3 separate regions of the Homo sapiens genome follow, and all the other regions are linked to region 1. Evidence: promoter capture Hi-C in 16 types of primary human blood cells and fetal thymus (Javierre and others, 2016). All regions are on one chromosome and are shown on one strand. Each heading gives the region's core, a stretch centred on a gene start or on the middle of the fragment in contact. The rest is flanking DNA. Distances are from core to core; before and after follow the strand shown. Region 1 holds the start of SLC25A28-DT (SLC25A28 divergent transcript). Region 2 overlaps HIF1AN (hypoxia inducible factor 1 subunit alpha inhibitor). Region 3 holds the start of OLMALINC (oligodendrocyte maturation-associated long intergenic non-coding RNA).

Evidence for each region. The method cuts DNA at HindIII sites, captures the fragments that hold promoters and counts their contacts. A CHiCAGO score of 5 or more calls a contact.
Region 2: a fragment that was not itself captured here is called in contact with the fragment with the promoter of SLC25A28-DT in region 1 in 1 of 17 cell types (fetal thymus); the score reaches 7.0 in fetal thymus.
Region 3: a contact is called between a fragment that was not itself captured here and the fragment with the promoter of SLC25A28-DT in region 1, in 1 of 17 cell types (fetal thymus). The highest score is 7.8, in fetal thymus.

What each region holds. Positions count from the first base shown.
Region 1 is chr10:99,619,152-99,622,900 of GRCh38, reverse strand. SLC25A28-DT (SLC25A28 divergent transcript) reads right to left here and starts at 2,056. Exons shown (of 1, transcript NR_186534.1): 1 at 983-2,056. It overlaps SLC25A28 (solute carrier family 25 member 28), which reads left to right and starts at 2,462. Exons shown (of 4, transcript NM_031212.4): 1 at 2,462-2,856. The coding sequence starts at 2,566. RefSeq lists enhancers at 906-1,487, 1,488-2,070, 2,654-3,236 and silencers at 1,722-1,881, 2,612-2,771. The HindIII fragment of the contact is 4,603 bases long and covers 1-2,270 here.
Region 2 is chr10:100,539,007-100,542,755 of GRCh38, reverse strand. It overlaps HIF1AN (hypoxia inducible factor 1 subunit alpha inhibitor), which reads right to left. Exons shown (of 8, transcript NM_017902.3): 3 at 1,974-2,122. Among named protein-coding and RNA genes, the nearest start is that of HIF1AN, 4.9 kb to the right of the region's middle. The HindIII fragment of the contact is 8,099 bases long and covers 1-3,749 here.
Region 3 is chr10:100,370,579-100,374,327 of GRCh38, reverse strand. It overlaps OLMALINC (oligodendrocyte maturation-associated long intergenic non-coding RNA), which reads right to left and starts at 752. Exons shown (of 3, transcript NR_026762.1): 1 at 316-752. RefSeq lists enhancers at 1-560, 630-759, 561-1,130, 860-1,189. The HindIII fragment of the contact is 2,501 bases long and covers 845-3,345 here.

The DNA of each region.
Region 1 (3,749 bases), core at 807-3,306:
TCCCCAGCTTCAAGTACACAGTTGGTACACAATAAACATTACTGAATGTTCCCATGGAAATTTCAGTTAAAAGTATGCAATAAGGGAAATAAAGATAGGGTTCCAATGAGGACAACTGGTTTGGAATGGCAAAGTTCTCTAAGGTATTAAAGATGACCAAGAAGCATTAAACGTTTAGGGATGTTCCACTTCAATGGCTAGAGAAGTGTAAGCGACTGAGATGTCTAAAAGGTAGAGTGGTTTCTGAAGCTAGTAAAAAGTGCCAATGTGGTGTGGCGGCAAGTGTTATCTCTGTTAAGAAAAACGGGAATAGGAAAAAGACCGATGGATTTGGAAAGGTCATTTATGACCAATGAATAAAAGAGTGAAAAATGTAAAGAGCTTAAGGAGAGAAAGGACATAGAGGTGGATAGGTCATTAGTGGAGTAATCTGGCAGTAAAGGGAATTAGTACTCTAGCAGGATTGAATGGGTTTTTGTGAGACCTATTCATTTCTCAAGCTAAATATGCTAGAGAAAAGGAGAGACTGAACATGCTGTGGGGGAGAAGTTCCTTTTAAAAAAATTTTTTTGAGACAAAGTCTTGCTTTGTCACCCAGGCTGGAGTGTAGTGGCATGAACACGGCTCACTGCAGCTTCGACCTCCCTGGCGCAAGCAATCCTCCCCCAAGTAGCTGAGACTACAGGTGCACACCACCATACCCAGCTAATTTTTGAATTTTTGTACTTTTTTGTATTTATTATTTTGTAGAGACGGGGTTTTGCCATGTTGTCCAGGCTGGTCTCGAACTCCTGAGCTCAATAAATCGTCCCACCTCGGCCTTCACAGTGTTGGGGTCACAGGCATGAGCCACTGCGCCGGCCAGGGAGAGGTTAACCAGGTTAATGGACCCCTAGGGTGTCCACATGGCACCTTCAGGGACTCTGAAACGCAGAAATGATATGCAAAATTTTGAGTGCACACAGGGGATGGGAGGTGGAAGTAGGAGAAGAGAATTCGTAGTTTTATTATTTTCCAAACGGTCGCGACCTAAAGGTTAATAACAACTGCTGAAGAGAGTAGAAAAAGTTTTTAAAAAGGAAGCCCAGAGAAGAGCTAAACTTTAGAAAGAAAAAAGGAAAACATCTTTCCTATCCAAGGAAAACCTATGAACAGATGGAGAAGTCCACAGTTGCATCATCTGGGTAAAACAGAGAAGACAGAGCTGGAAACCGCGGGCAGCTTGTGCCAACACGCTCGGGGAAGGCAAATGGAAGAAGACGCCCGTGCTCCCTAGAGCAGGAGGTCCTAAGGCCGGGAATCGCTGGCCTTGCCTCTCAGGACCCGGGCTGACCCGAGGGAGGGAGAAGCCCTCATCGCCAGGCGGGGGACCCATCAGCGCGCCGGCTCAGGGACAAAATACTGATGCTTCAGACTCGGCCAGGCCGTGCGTCCGAGCTTCCCCACAGCCGCCGCACTTCCCTGCTGCCTTTGGGATGCGGCCTCCAGCCCCGCCTCGCCACCGGCCGTCATCTGTGAATCATCCCGCCCATTTCGACATCTTCCTCCCCCGCCTTCGGCTCTTGGCCTGGCGCAGAGCCCAGTGACAGCCGGGGCCCGGGGAACCTCATTCATTCAACACTTGTTGGGTTTACTCTGCGAATGTGGATGCGAGGCTCAGTGCCGGGCGCTGGGGCCTGAGGAGCACCGAGTCCGGCCAGAGGGCCCAATACTCCAGACCCGACCAGAGTCTAGCGGGCCGCCGCGGTCCCCCCTGGAGGTGAGGCGGTTCCCAGCCCGCATGTCGCAACGGCTTCCCGGACAGGCTGCGGGTCGCGCCAGCCAGGGATGACCGGCCCAGGCCGGCCCCGCCTCACGCCCGCGACGAGATCCCGCGGGAACACGGCTCTCCGGGGCCAGGGCCGCCCGCTCTCCAGCCACGCGTCTCAGAATTTGAGGAGCGCACGGGAGCGCGGGTCGTAACGGCGCCCGTCAGCAGTTTGACGTTGAAGGCCTGTCGCCGCCCCGCCCCCGACGCGATCCCGCGCACAGGGACCGCAGCTCTGCAGGCGCTAGTGAGGGGCCCGAAGTCGGCCCCTAGAGTCCCTGGGCGCGTCGCTCTTTCTGTAGCCAATCGGGGACCGACGTGGTGCGGGCCAATGGCCGCGGTCAAAGTATCAAGAGTGGTTGAGCCTATCAAAGTTCAGCCTTAAGTTTCTCCCGCCCTTCTAAAAGTCAGAGGCGGGTTGATCGCACATGTCGGCCAATCAGTGACCAATAAACAAGAAGCTTCTAAGATCAAAGGGGAAAAGGTGGGATGTAGGCGCTAGCAACGCCTCAGGGCGGAGGAATGACAGGCGACTTCGCTAATACTACCGGCTGATTTTTCGTACGTAAGGAAAGGGGTGGGTCTAACTTGGCGTCTCCACCAATGGTTGCTTGGGGGGCGTGTCCGCGGGGCCAAGCGGGAGCCGGAGGCCCCGGGCTCTCTGGGCCGCGCCTGAGGCGGACACTACGGGGCCGGGGGGCGGCGGCGGCAGTGGTGGCAGCGGCGGCGGGGGTGGGCGCCGCAGCTGGCCCGGGTGGATGGAGTTGGAGGGGCGGGGTGCTGGCGGTGTGGCGGGGGGGCCGGCGGCAGGGCCCGGGCGGAGCCCCGGGGAGTCGGCGCTGCTGGACGGGTGGCTGCAGCGGGGCGTGGGCCGGGGGGCCGGCGGCGGGGAGGCCGGGGCCTGCAGGCCCCCGGTACGACAAGATCCGGACTCCGGCCCGGACTACGAGGCGCTGCCGGCTGGAGCCACTGTCACCACGCACATGGTGGCAGGCGCCGTGGCAGGGATCCTGGAGCACTGCGTGATGTACCCCATCGACTGCGTCAAGGTGAGACCTGCACCCGGCTTCGAACCCGACCTGGGGCTGACCCGACCCCTGGGTCTTGTCCGGAGCCAGGATCCCGGCTGAGAGCCGGAGCCGACATGGGTTCCTTCCTGGCTCCTGCCACTACCACATGATTCGAACCGACACTCCATTCAAGCAAGGTCCCAGCTGGGAGTTGATCCCAGTCAGGAACCAGGACCTATTTCTAACCGTCAGTGAAATCTGAATCGGGACTCAGGATCGAAAATCTGTCAGCCAAAGCCCTGGACCCCACCTGGGACTAAACAGGAATAGGGTGGGATGGGGTATCCCGAAGCTCAGGTAAGTGCTACTAACTCGATTAAGGTGAAGCCAACTGGCGTGAACCAGACCCTGAAATGGATCTAACGGCTTGAGATGTTTTCTGGGCTAGTGCTTTTACAAACTCCTTGCTGTATCTTCCCTTACTGACGGGGCAGGAACCCGAATCTGGGATCTCTCAGCTAGATAAAGGACTTACATGTTAAATCTTAACACATGAGTGATTGGAAATCATTGTGCAGTGAGAATGCAGAATTCCAGACTGGAAGTAATGTGGGAAAGATCGTATTCAGGAATAGGTTTCAGTTTCTCTGTGAAGCAAGCATGATACCCCACCTATTTCCTGAACATGAAAATTGAGCTGGGATTAGGACTGTATGTTCAGGGAGCACATCAGCCTCCAAACAAGAGAGATGAAACTGATAGCATATTTCTTTGGCCACCTGAAGTTGGCAAAAAGGGAGAAGTTGCCTAGAAAGGAAGTGTGACGGTATTAGAAAGTAGATGTAAGTATGAAGAAAATGGAAAGAGATCAACAAGAGGACACGATTCTTGTGAAAGTAAAACTAATTGCATTCACAACCAAGCAGGATGAT
Region 2 (3,749 bases), core at 784-3,283, 920 kb before region 1:
GGAGGCTAAGAGACAGGGGTAGTTATCACTATGTACCTATTTACACCTTTTGAATTCGAACTCCATGAATGTATTATCTATTTAAAAGATAAAGTTGAATTTGCCAGGCGCGGTGGCTCACGCCTGTAATCCCAGCACTTTGGGAGGCCGGGGCAGGTGGATCATGAGGTCAGGATATCGAGACCATCCTGGCTAACACGGTGAAACCCCATCTCTACTAAAAGTACAAAAAAAATTAGCCAGGTGTGGTGGCGGGCGCCCGTAGTCCCAGCTACTTGGGAGGCTGAGGTGGGAGAATGGCGTGAACCTGGGAGGCGGAGCTTGTAGTGAGCCGAGATCGCGCCACTGCACTCCAGCCTGGGCGACAGAGCGAGACTCTGTCTCAAAAATAAATAAATAAATAAAAACAATAAAGTTGAATTTACACTAAAAAAATAAGTTTCTCCTCTTTCACAGGGACAAAAATTGTCTGAATATAGACAGATCTAGTAGAGAAAAGTGGTACAGTCATGTGCCACATGATGACATTTTAGTCGACAACAGATTGCATCTACGATAGTGCTCCCATAAGATTATGATGGAGCAGCCCTATACAGGTATACCGTTTTTTATCTTTTTTTTTTTTGGCAATAAAAAAATTCCCAAACTACCATTTTTTAACCTTTATATACTTTTTTCTTTTGTCACCTTTTTCCTGCAGTATCTGATACCGTACTTTTACTATACCTTTTCTATATTTAGGTATGTTTAGATACACAAATACTTACCATTGTGTTAGAATTGACTATAATATTCAGCACAGTAATATGCTAACACCATGTAGTACATGGTTTAGTCAGAGGCTACACCATATAGCCTAGGCATATAGAAGGCTACACAATCTAGGTTTGTGTAACTATACTCTATGGTGTTTGCACAATGATGAAGTCACCTAACAACACATTTCTCAGAACGTATCCCTGACATTAAGCATCACATGTCTGTATTTCAGAGAGGTCCCTAATATCTCAGTATACACACTCACATAACAGCTGAGGAAGGGAAAAGGGAACTTTTTAGAATACACGAAACTAGCTTAAAGACTCGACATAAGCCGGGTATGGTGGCACACGCCTGTAGTGTCAGCTACTTGGGAGCTAAAGCAGGAGAATCACTTGAACACGGGAGGCGGAGGTTGCAGTGAGCCGAGACCACACAACTGCACTCCAGCCTAGGCAACAGAGTGAGACTCTGTCTCAAAAAAACAAAACAACAACAACAAAAAAAAACAGACTCGACATACATTATTTCATTTAATCTTCACAACTTCACAACTATTTACAAGACATTATCATGTTTCATTTCTTTTCATTTTTCCTTTTTTAAGCAATAGGATCTCACTCTGTTGCCCAGGCTGCAGTGCAGTGGTGCAATCATAGTTCACTGTAGCCTCAAACTTCTGGCTTCAAGCAATCCTCCTGCCTTGGCCTCCCAAAGTGCTGGGATTACAAATATGAGCTACCATGCCTGGCCCTATTATGTTTCTTTTTCTTTCTTTTGAGACAGAGTCTTGCTCTGTCGCCAGGCTGGAGTGCAGTGGCGTGATCTTGGCTCACTGCAACCTCCACCGCCTGGGTTCAAGCAATTCCCCTCTCTCAGCCTCCCGAGTAGCTGGGACTACAGGCACGCACCACCATGCCCAGCTGATTTGTTTTCTTTGTATTTTAGTAGAGACGGGGTTTCATGATGTTGGCCGGGATGGTCTCCATCTCCTGACCTCATCATCCACCCACCTTGGCCTCCCAAACTGCTGGGATTACAGGCGTGAGCCACGGCATCCAGCCCCTATTATGTTTCTTTTAGAGCTGAGTAGGCTGAGGCTTAAGAAAGTGAAGTGGCTTGTTCAAAGTCATGGAGCTAATAAGCGGTGAAGACAGGATTAGAAATCAGGTTCATATGACTCCAAGCCATGCTGCTTTTGAAAGATTTCTTACCTTCCATGCCAATGAGCAGCAGGTTAGAGGTAAGCTGCCCCCAGCCACGCTTTCCCTGTTGCTTATTAATCCAGTTCCAGTTAAAACCTAAGAAGTCCATGACAATCTTCCTGCCCACAGTGTCATTGAGCGTTTGCTGCAGATACAACCTATGTTCCCCAAGAAGAAAATCCTATTAGTGCATGCACACACAGCCCCTGGCATGGCCTCTCCACATCTGAAAATCCAAGCCCAAATCCATACCAGCATCTCCCACAGAGAACAGATGTAGTCAGGCAAATTTTAGCCAACATGGATTCTCATACAACTGAATTCTTACTTATCCTTCATTGAGTTATGTTCAACACCAAATTTTTTAATTTACTGGTTTTTCTTTGTTTTGTTTAAAGAAACAAGGTCTCAATATGTTGTCCAGGTTGGTCTTAAACTCTTGGGCTCAAGCAATCCTCCTGCTTCTGCCTCCCAAAGTGCTGGGATTACAGGTGTGAGACACTGCATCTGGCCCCCAAACTTTTTCTTTAAAGAAGTGATGCTTAACCTTTTTTGGGTCACAGAATGACTCCTTTAAGAATCCAAAGAGTAGGAGGGTGAGATGAAAAATAAAATTAAAAAAAAAAAAAAGAACCTGGAGAAGAAGTCCCAGCTACTCAGGAGGCTGAGGCAGGAGAATCACTTGAACCTGGGAGGCAGAGGTTGCAGTGAGCTGAGATCGTGCCATTGCACTCCAGCCTGGGTGACAAGAGCAAGACACCATCTCAAAAAATATAAATACATAAATAAATAAATAAAAGAATCCACGGAGGTTCCCCATAAAAATGCACATACACCCAGAACTTTCACACAATTTCAGACTCCTAGAAGCCTATCCACAGACCCTAGAATGATGAATCAGTCTCACTCCAGAGACTCGCAGAGCCTGAGACATCTCCGTTGGCCCTTGATGACCACTGTGGTAAATTGTATTACTGTTCACCAAGAGCTGGTTCCCTCAGTGTGCGAGTTTTCTTTCACATCCCCTTGAAGCCAGGCTTGCTTATTTACGCTGCTCTGGCCAAGGAAATGTCCACAGAAGCGACTTGTGTTGTTTCCAACTGTAATTTAAGAACAAGTTACCACTACCACATCTCTTTCCTTCTGCCACAGCAACTCCAAAGTTCTAGATAGTAGCTGCTGGGGCAATCTGGGTGCCAGAGCAAGTAAGATGATGTAAAGAACAATATGACATTACCCATGATCAACATGTAGTAAGTGAGAAATAAGCCTCTGTTGTTTCTAGCCCGAGCTCTGGCTTGAAGCCTAGTTTATCTTAACTGATTCAGCCACCTATCCTGTTGCAGCCTTCTACAGCTAAAGTAAGGAAGATAGCTTATTAGGTAAAGGCCTCAGGCTCCTAACATACCTGAGGAAGGTCATAAGTTACTTAAGAGATATGAAAACCCAGACACACTTGAACAAGCCCACAAGAGACATTTAATAAGTGTGCAAACCTAAAAAAAAGACAGAAGCATCTCTGTCCTGGTCCTGAGATCATTATTTCAAAAGGCTCAAAGAGGCCAGGTGCGGTGTCTCACGCCTGTAATCCCAGCACTTGGAGAGGCCAAGGGAGGTGGATTGCCTAAGCTCAGGAGTTCGAGACCAGCCTGGGCAACATGGCAAAACCTTATGTATTTAAATAAATAAATTGGTTATTAAAAATACACAAAATTAGCTGGGCATGGTGGTGGCAGCACATGCCTGTGGTCCCTGCTACTTGACAGGCTGACGTGGGAGGATCGC
Region 3 (3,749 bases), core at 846-3,345, 750 kb before region 1:
CATTCCCACCGTGACTATCCCAGCTTTTGAGGTCCCATGACTCTTCACCAGAGTGGTAACAATAGCTTCCCAACATCTCCCAGCCCCCATCCCCCCGCTACTCTGCTCTGTTGCCATGAGAGTTAACTTTGCGAAACAGAGAGATTATTTTCCTCTCCTGCTTGAAAATATCTGATGACTTCTTATCACTTACAGAAGCAAGTCTAAACTTTCCACTGTCTCCTCCCACTCTCCCACCACACACCACCTTCCTGCGCCGGTTGCGTCAGCCTCGAACGTTCCTGAACGCTTTGCTGTTCCTGTGCTTTTACTCACGTTCTCCCCAGTGACTGCCCAATCTTTAGTGTGTTTTGCTGACTCCTGGCGCTCTGGCTTTTCCATAAGAGGCGTTTTTGCACGATTGCAGACAGGAATAAAAATGAGCTCTGCCTACTGGGCCGTCCTGGTTAGCAAGGTCTACACCACCTCAAAGGCAGCTATGGACTAAGAGCCCACAAAGAATCTCGGGTTATGAGGGAGGGGCTGGCCGTGGAGACGGCTAAAGCGCCTCATTTGTCTTCCCAGCAGGGAAGCGATGGGACCTCGGCGGGCAGGGAACGCGATCTCCACCCGTCTGGAAAACTCTCTGAGTTCTGGAGCACTGTTCGCGGCCGGACTGAGTGGCATGTCCGCATTTTCCCCATTCCAGGGTAGGGCAGACTGAGGTAGGAGAGCAGAGCCCCGAGGCCGACTCCCCGGGAAAAAAAAAAAAAGGAAAAAAGGCTCCCGCCGACCTGTGATTCACAGGAGCAAGAGGCTGGAAGGACCGCGCCTCCTGATTGGAGCAGACAGAATCAGACAAGCTTGGGGGCCGCTGATTGGCTCCGGCGTGGTCAGGCGCTGGTGGGCTGTTGTAGGTGTAAATAGCTCTTGAAGGCCCGGGTCTGTGACCGGCAGTAACCCCGGCGAGAGTGGGTGGAGAGGGAGGCGCTTCCTCTCCATTCATGTCAGCTGCCAGCCAGGCCCGGGCAGGCCGGCCCTTTAGCGGAGGGGACTGGGCAGGACGAGGCGATGGGTGTCTTCGGAGATCTTAAGCTGGGCTGAAAGTTAAACACTCACCCGCAGGGCTGAGCCAGAGCTGGCACCTTCCACACCGAGCCCCTTCCTATCTGTGACTGTTGAAAAGTTTAATGTGATGTTCTGGGTGAGGACCGAGGCGTTGGAGGTCGCTAGGAGGGTAGTTTTACGGAGTCGCGTTAATGGCTGTAGTGGGTGTACCTTAGTGACCACAGGGAGGTGGCAGCCTGTCCTCTCCTCCTCCTGGTCACCGTATTCTATTTGCGGAAAAGGTAAGAATGGAGGCTTGGATAGTCTTTCTACTAGAGATGCAACTTCTCCCACCCTCTACTCCAGGGGAAAGAGAAGTCTGTGGGGAACTGGCTTTGTAAAAAGTAGGAAAGAGGAAAGGGACAAATGGGTACACGTTAAGAAGAGGGTGACTCTCATACATTGCTGGAGAAAATTTAAAGTGGTGCAGCCACTGGGGAAACAGTTTGATGGTGCCACAAAAGGTTAAATATCAAATTAGCATCTGGCCCAGCAACTCCACTCCTAGATATAAACCCTAATAAATTATAAACGGGTACTCATATTTGCACTCAAATGTTCATGGCAGTGCTATTCACAATAACCAAAAGGTGGAAGCAACTCCAGTGTTCATCAATTGATAAATCAGTAAACCAACTGTGGTGTATTCATACAATGGAATATGAATAGGTAATAAACAGGAATGAAGTACTGATATATGCTCCAATGGGGATGAACATTGAAAGATTATGCCAAGAGAAGGAAGCCAGACACAGAAGGTCATATATTGTACGATTCCATGTATAGGAAATATCCTGAAGTGGTAAATCCACAGAGACAGAAAGCAGACTGATGGTCACCAGGGGCCGAGTGTGGGTGGGAAGATGGGGAATCACTGTTGAATGGGTTCAAGTTTTCTTTTGGGGTGAAAATGTTTTAGAACAAAAGGTAGTGTTTGCACAATGTTATGAATGCACTAAGTGCCACAGAACTGGTCAATTTAAAATGGTTAGTTCGGCCTGGCACGGTGGCTCACACCTGTAATCCCAGCACTTTGAGAGGGTGGGGCGGGCGGATCACCTGAGGTCAGGAGTTTGAGACTAGCCTGGCCAACGTGGTGAAACCCCATCTCTCCTAAAAAAAAAAAAAAAAAGAAAGAAAGAAAGAAAAAAAAAGATGGGCATGGTGGCAGGTGCCTGTAATCCCAGCTACTCAGGAGGCTGAAGCAGGAGAATCGTTTGAACCCGGGAGGCGAAGGTTGCAGTGATCCGAGATCATCCCATTGCACTCCAGCCTGGGCGACAAGAGCAAAACTCTGTCTCAAAATAAATAAATAAAATAAAATGGTTAGTTTAGCCGGGCACGGTGGCTCACACCTGTCATCCCAGCACTTTGGGAGGCCAAGGGAGGAGGATCACTTGAGCCCAGGAGTTTGAGACCAGCCTGGGCAATATAGTGAGACCCCTATCTCAATAAATAAAGTGGTTAGTTTTATATTGTGTGAATTGTCTCTCAATTAAAATGTATCTCTCTCTCTCTCTCTCTCTCTCTCTCTCTCGCAAACAAACTGACAGACTAAAAGGTGAGTCCTTCCTGCTGTCCATAATTCTCTAAGAAAGAAATAAGAAACAGCAATTCTGAGTCCTCTGCTGCCTTTCACTTCCACTTTCCTCTCTGTTTTTTGAAGTCTGGCATGGTCCTGGTTACTGACTGCTCCCCATGGAAAATGGCCAGGAGGGAGAGGGCCCCTTCCGCCCCTCTGAGAAGGTCCTCGCCTGGGCCCAGAACCACTGTGAGTCAGCCCGGCATACACACACTGAGCCTTTGTGAGCGCTCTGTGGCCAGGGTGTAGCTGGCTGGGCGGGACCGCGTGGGGGAAGGGCAGGTCCGGGTCCTGAAAGTGGGAAGGCTTCTGCCTCCAGCAACCCCAGTATGGAATCTCAACTCCTTGGAGCCTGCAATTAGGGCCTGTGGCATTTGTTCCAAAGTCAGTGTACAAGAATCAGCGCTTTGCCTGCAGCACGGAAAGTTAACTACAGGTCACAAAATATGACTCCTACTCCCTGTGACATTTCACACAGTTTGTAGCAGTGACAGAATTTAGAGCAAGACATGAGCTCATTCTGTCATTTCCAGTGCTGACTGTTTAGGGGCAGGGAGACATTTCTGAAAGAGGAAGATGCTTTTGAGGAGCTCACAATCTTATAGGAGGGTGAAGTGTAGTTTAGGAAAAGTAGACAGGAAATGTTGGGTACGTATCTATGGTTTGAGAGGAAAGCTTAAAACCCAGGTGTGACTGAATGTTAAGACGGGTCAGGAGGTGGAGTGAGCTGGGTTCTTCCGGAACAGTGGATGCATCTGCTGTTTGTGCAAAACTTAAGCTCCCTGCCACTGCCACCCAGGGAGGAGGGTCACATCACCAGGCTTTGCCTCTGAGTATAACTGAATATTGCCAGGCATACAGTTGGACATATGACAGATTACGACATATCTAGTTTGTCATCTGCTCCACACCCAGTAGAGCCAGTAGTTAAGACCATAGGTCTGGAACCAGATCATAGCAACATTACACATTTTCTCACAGCTTTTTCTCCAAGTGAACTCAGTTACCTCATCAGTAAAATCCAGGTAACAATAACACCTGCTTCGGATGTGGTGCGATAACACACTGCCAAGCATTCAGT